Regions from separate parts of the Homo sapiens genome. Here region 2 is linked to region 1. The links are contacts of gene promoters, found by promoter capture Hi-C in human tissues and cell types (Jung and others, 2019). All regions are on one chromosome and are shown on one strand. Each heading gives the region's core, a stretch centred on a gene start or on the middle of the fragment in contact. The rest is flanking DNA. Distances are from core to core; before and after follow the strand shown.

The links. Contacts are between HindIII fragments. The study calls those that stand out against the background at their distance.
Region 2: a fragment that was not itself captured here is called in contact with the fragment with the promoter of PDE4B in region 1 in 3 of the 25 tissues and cell types used here (H1 embryonic stem cells, bladder and liver).

The regions. Positions count from the first base shown.
Region 1 is chr1:65,790,917-65,794,542 of GRCh38, forward strand. PDE4B (phosphodiesterase 4B) reads left to right here and starts at 1,979. Exons shown (of 17, transcript NM_002600.4): 1 at 1,979-2,332. The HindIII fragment of the contact is 13,295 bases long and covers 1-3,626 here.
Region 2 is chr1:65,927,624-65,930,801 of GRCh38, forward strand. The region is part of intron 3 of PDE4B (phosphodiesterase 4B); the gene reads left to right. Among named protein-coding and RNA genes, the nearest start is that of PDE4B-AS1, 120 kb to the right of the region's middle. The HindIII fragment of the contact is 7,284 bases long and covers 1-3,178 here.

The sequences.
Region 1 (3,626 bases), core at 729-3,228:
CTCAAATTGGTTCTTTTTTTCCCCTAGATTGAACTACAATTTAGATTCCTTACACTCTCTTTAGGCAATGGTTGCCTTATATTTAATACATCTAACTAATCCTAACTGTAGTTCAGAAAAAGAGATTCCATTATCATCATTTTACAGATGAAAACTGTGAGAACAATGACTACATTGCGGATTTTGTTGGCTTCCTTTCAGGTGCTTATTGCCTCACTATTATTAATTTTGGCTTTGGGCTCAATTTCAAGGTTATGGATGAGGTAGATGGTATAGTGTAAGCAACAGGTCCAAAAAGGCAGAATAACCAGCGAACACTTGGTAGCATCTCAGATGTGGGGAAATAGGTGTTTTATACTCCAAACGCTAGTGTTTGAATATGTTTCCTCCAAAACCATGAAGGGGAAAGTTCATTAAGTTCCTACACTGATAAGCTCTTAGACATGCCTTTCAATGTACAGGCATGTAAAGCTATTTTGGGTGAATGGGTGAATAGTAGGTTATTAGGTTATTGCCCTTCTTTGGGAGGTCCCTATTTGTCCTTTAATACACAGTTCAGATGGGATTTAAATTCCCTGACCTGTTCCTTCTCTTACATAGAAAAAATTGCTTCCACTTATGCAATTGGCATGTGCTTCTGTTGTGAAATACTTGTGTTGTTTGTCTCGGGCTTTCATAGTTGGTTCTCCTATTAGGCAGTGAGCTCCTTGGGTGCAGAGACTATGTCCTAATCGACTCTGCATCCTTAGCTTCTGCAAAGTGCTCAGTGCACAGTAGGTGTGCATGATGTTTATTGGAATAAATCGAGAAACAGGCGAATGTTGTCTATTAAAGTCATTTTGGTCTCTAGCTACTGTAGTAGTTGGATAGGCAAAGTTACTTCATGCCTATCTTCCTCCTCTTTTCCTTGCCAGCTTCCTTCTTTTTTTCTCTGACTGAAAGGGCTGGACAACCGGGGAAAAGGAAACTTGTGCTTTCCAGCATACCTCTCCCACTCTACACACACACACACACACACTCTCTCTCTCTCTCTCTCTCTCTCTCTCTCGCTCTCGCTCTCGCTCTCTCTCCATCCTGTTGCATTTTTAAAGCAGGCTCAGTCAGGTTACTGAGTGCCTGTTGCTCCATCACACGAATTCCCAAGTTGTGGGACTCACCTTCAGGGGTGTCTTGGTGGAGCACCTCTTGGGAGGTGATCTGACCTGTTGGTTCAGGAGCACTGCGCGTATTCACTCTGGCGCTCCTTTGTGCAACAGGAGACCAGAGGACTCCCACGGTCCCACTGGCTCCTTCCACGTAATGTGCCCCGCTGGCTCTCTCGCCTCCCCCAACCCGGGGGTCTGCGTCCCCTGCGCCCCAGTCCCTCTTTGTGCAGCCAGTAGCTGCAGAGCTCTTCGTCTTGTATTCATGGCAGATGCACAGCGAGTGACTGACACGTTCCAGGGACGGCGAATGGGAAAGAGCGCGGGCGGCCGGGGGAGGGTGTGTAGTGGCAGACGGCCGCTGGGATTATGAATGGGGGCTGGGGGGCCGGCGAGTGTGGGGTTCAAACCAGGATTTTCGGTCTCTGGCTTTGGATAGGCACGCAGGGCTGTGCGTAATCCTTCAGCTCTGGTGGTAAGGGAGATGCAGTGAGCTCCCGGCTGGGAGAGAGGGTTATTTTGCAAAACTCCCCTGGTACCGTGCCCGCGGAATATTGCAGGAGGTCTGTGAGGTAGGTGGGGGAAAAAATAACCTGGGAGGGCAATCAGGGAGAGGCCAGACGACTGGGGACGGCGTGCTTTGCACCCTAGAATTGACAGGTGGTGGCCTCAGCAGTTACAACCTACTACACAGCATCTCGTCCGTGCGATACGGTCACATTGTTATTCCCCGCACCCGGCTGAGGAGCGCAGCGCGGCAGACCAAGTGGCACCGGCGAGCTGTCTCTCTTCCGGGGGGCGGGGGTGGACAGTAGGGAGAGGGGGTTTAAAGGGCCAGAGGACGAGAGAAGAGCTGAGGGGCGCGTCGCCAGCGCCTGTGTCTCCCTGGCGCGGGTTCCCCAGGCTAGCCCGCTGGCCCGTCCGCGCGCGCGCCCCCGGCCCGCGCGCCCCTTCCCGGGGCTCCTGGCCTCGCCTCAGCGGCTGCAGGCTCTTCGTCGCGGGCCGGGCTGCACGCGAGCGCCCTCCGGGCAGACTTTCGTCCCCCACCCCCGGGAGCGCGGAAGGCTCACTCGCAGCGCATGGTCTACCCGCGCCGGGCGGAGCCCCGGCGTCCAGAGCGCTGCGGCCGCGGCGGTGCAGCAGAGGCGCCTCGGGCAGGAGGAGGGCGGCTTCTGCGAGGGCAGCCTGAGGTAAGGGCTGCCTAGGAGGCTGCGGGTTTATTTTTCCTCATTCTCTTACTTCATCACACACTGAAGCCTCAATGGAGAGTGTAGGGTGCTGTGGGGCTGATGTGGGGCAAAGAGGGAATGGGGCCGCCGGGCCTGGATGGTCGTCTTGACGGCGTCATTGTCGCCCCTTGTAGGAAATCCGCCAACCGGCCCCTAGCCTTTCGCCCTCATCTTCTCTGCTTCGGCTTCCGCCCTTGGACCTCTTGACAAGTCACTGGGGAGGAGAGGATGGAGAGAGGCTAAGGGAGAATGGAGAGAGGCAGAAGGATTCAGGGCTTGGAAGCCCTGGAGTAGGTGACGGATGGGCGCGCGGTGCCCAGTGATTGACTGCAGGCAGCGGGCGCGGAAGGGAACCTGAACTACCCAAGAGTTTGCTGGGCTGAGGCTCCAGGATGCTCCTGCGTGCCCTGGTGGCTGGGGCACCAAGGAGGGGCGCACTCAAGCCTCGGCATCACCAAGGCTCTGCCAGGAACTTTTGGGAAGATTTGTCTGGTGTTTGGTGAGGGGGCTTGGACCTTTCTAGCTACAAGAGTGTGTTGGGGAAGGAAGAGGCTCTCCTCCTTTCTCCTGTCACTTTCCTTCATGCCTACTCTCTTCTTCCATCTTCCTGTTTTGCCTCCTTCCTTCCCGTTTTTCACAGGCCACCTTCCTTGTGCGGTACTTCAAACACAAATCGGAACCCACTATGGCCAACAGCTTTAAAGCGTGTATAAGGAGGAGCGCACAGAAGAATCGCTCTTAATTACAGTAGTTATATATGTGTGTGTGTGTGTCTGTGTGTGTCACACACGTGCCTGGGATAATTTTTAGCAAGACTTTGAGACGGTCACCTAAAATTACATTGTACTTACATTAGGTTTACATCATAATTATATGATGCCACTGAACAGAAATGGTAACTCTATGCATTCTGCATCTTAGATCTGAGATATAACTGTTCTTTGAATCACATGCATCGTTTAATTTCAAAGATTTCCAGCTGCTGGAAAACTCTTGGCTAAGTTATAAGAATGAAAGGCACATTAAGCATAAAAAAAGTAATAAATGTCCAGATACTATTTTTATTAGTAGATCATACTCCCCCTCCGTTTCCTTTTGCCAAAAGCTGTTATTATACCAATTATATTCATAAAAACGAAACAAATTTGGAGATTTCAGTGTTTTTACCTACAACCTGAAGTGTAGGTAGGGGTCTAGAATTTATCTGTACATGAATTCACAAGAAGATAGATAAGGCCAATGATTTCACTGCAGG
Region 2 (3,178 bases), core at 526-3,025, 140 kb after region 1:
GTCTTCTGCACAGCCAAATGGGAGAGTTGAATGGGAATAACCACTCGTGCTTCTTTCAAGTCCTTGATAGTGGCACTAATCTCCACAGTCCCTCCAGGGATGCGATATTGTTTTTGATTTACTATTTTTCTAGGTAGAGGCAGCTCTAATGGCTTCCATTTGGCCTTTCTCACCGTAACAGCCCTCACCCTACCAGTCAGGGAGCCAATGTGGGGGTTCTGCCAGTTGCTAAGAATGTCTATGCCTATTATGCACTGGGGAAATGACCACAGGATGAGTCCGGGAACCCACTGGATCCACTCTTTGTTGGACCTGAGCTACAACTCCATTAATTACCTGACCTCCATAAGCCCCTGCTTTAACTGGAGGACCACAGTGACATTTTGGGTCCTCTGGAATCAATGTCAGCTCAGAGCCAGTGTCCACTAGTTCCTTAAATGTCGATCATTTCCCTCTCCCCAGTGGGCAGGTACCCTGGTAAAAGGCTGGAGGTCTCCTTGGGGAAGGATGGGAGAAAGATTCACTGCTCAAATTGTCGATAACGTAGTGAGGTCCTTCCTCAAGGGTACCTGGCCTCCCCTTCATTCAAGGAGTTCTGGGTCTGTAAACTGGCTCAAGTCTGGAAATCGATTGAGGGGCCATTATTCTCTGTTTTTATAATTTAAATTAGTCTTTTGTCCATTCGACCTAGAAGTTTTCTGCTAGTATAAATTAAGTACGAATGCAGTAGGCTTCCTATCAATTTCACTTCTAGGAACACCGTGATTAATTAGCCAATGCCATAACTCTACACGAGTCAGACCATTCTGATTGCCACTTTGCCTCTGCTGTCCAATAAGGTAGCTACGCCCACCTTGCCTTTGAAGGTTGAGTGCCACCACTTGGCTCCTGCCACCTCAGGATCTAATTACTCCCATTGTATTTAAATTTTGTGGTTGAGTGACTGCAGTTCCCACTGTTAGATCTGACATACAGAGAAGAGCAATTACAGGGCTCTTCAAAGATGCAGGTGCCACCCTCGCAAATCTATTTTGCAAGGCATTGGTCAAGGGTGTATCTTCTGGACCCTCCCAGCTGGGATGAGAGGTCTAAAGTGACTAATCCACTCCATCATCCCAATCTCCCTAAGCCTCTGGATCCCTTCCTCTCCATTAAACCAAGGGAGATCAGGCATTTCCAGCTTGCTTACAGTGGGCCATCTTTTAGTCCATATTTCAGCTAACCAAGCAAATAAACTATTAGAACATTTTTTAACTCACCAAGCTGCAACATTAGAAGCAGAGTTCCTATGTAGTGGGCCCAAATTAATAAATTCGGCCTGATCCAACTCTGTATTCCTTCCACCATTATCCCACACCCTTAATATCCATTCCCATGTTCTTCAGATTTCTGTTTATATAAATGAGAAAACTCAAGCAGTTCTTTTCCAGTGTAGCGCACCTCCTCATGGGTCACACTCTCAACCTTACTTCTAGGGGCCCGCCGGGACTTTAGTCTAGTTATAGGTCTAGAAGCAAACAGGCAGGTTGGGGGTGGCTCCTGAGGAGAATCAGCATTACCTTGCCTGGCAACCACCTCAGGGGAGGCCATCACTGTTGCCTCAGGCGGCACAGGGTTTATCTCTTCAGACAAAGGTAGAAAGGCTGATGGCAGCATGGGTCGGGGAGGGGATGTTGCCACTACTGGGGATGGGGAAGCTGTTCCTTCTGGCAAAAAAGATTCATCAGAGTTTACAAATTCAGTATCCCCAGCTTCATCAGTGTCTTCCCACATGTTCCTGTTCCAAGTTGCAGGGTCCCATTCTTTTCCAATCAATCTCACTTTAATAGACACCTGGTGAGGCTGTGCATGCACCTTCTGTTGCAGGTCACCCACTTTCATGATAAGAGTTTGTGCCTGTTTTTCCATAATTCCCGCTCTTTCTCTATAGGAAATAAGACTTTCACTTAGGGCAATCTTAACAGACTTGAGGTTCAGTATTTGCTTCTGAAGCCAGGAGACAGAATCCATGAGTTTATCATTTTCTTTCATCACTTTGTCCACTGAACTTAGGCGCAACCAATCAGCTTCATTACGTTCCTTGGTTCTGCACATATGGTCAAAGGTATTATGTATAGAGTCACTAAACTCCTTGCCTCTCATGAGTGGTGAATTGGGAGTGTCAAATGCATTTATTTTGTATAACTCTCTAAACAATCCATGCCAAGGACTATCAGTGTTCTCCATACTATTAGAAGTAGAATCCTTAGCATTTTTGAGTCTAATCATATTAAGCAGCCAACTCCAGAAACTCCCAAACTAATGAAAGAACTCCATTCTTAAAATACTGTTCCTCTAGAACCATTCTTGGTACCAAAATCTATATTTGCCAGAGTTCTCTAGAGGGACAGAACTACTAGGATACAAAGTCCCACAATAAGCTGTCTTTAAGCTTGAGAAGCAAGGAGAGTGAGTCTGAGTCTCAAAACTGAAGAACTTGGAGTCCAATGTTTGAGGGCAGGAAGCATCCAGCATGGGAGAAAGATATAGGCTGGGAGACTAGGCCAGTCTCTCCTTTTCACGTTTTTCTGCCTGCCTTATATTTGCTGGCAGTTCATTAGATTGTGCCCACCAGATTAAGGGTGAATCCTCTTTCCCGAGCCCACTGACTCAAATGTTAATCTCCTTTGGCAACACCCTCACAGACATGCCCAGGATCAATACTTTGCATCCTTCAGTTCAATCAAGTTGACACTCAGTATTAACCATCACAGAGGGCCACTGTTCTCCAGACTCCAGAATGATAGATCCACTGGCAGCTTGTACCCTGCACCTGGAAAAGCTACAGGCATTCAATGCCAGCCCTTGAGAGCAGCATTGGGGGGTCGAGCCCTGGAAGGCCACAGGGGCGGAGCTGCCCAAGGCCTTGGGAGCCCAGCCCTTACATCAGTGTGCCCTGGATGTGGGACATGGAGTCAAAAGAGATTATTGTGGAGCTATACAATTTAATGACCACCCTGCTGGGTTTTGGACTTGCATAGGGCCTGTAGCCCTGTTCTTTTGGCTGATTTCTCTCTTTTGGAATGGAAGTATTTACCCAATGACTATACCCCCATTGTATCTTGGAGGTAACTAACTTGTTTTTTATTTTACAGGCTCATAGGCAGAAGGGACTAGCCTTGTCTCAGATGAGACTTTG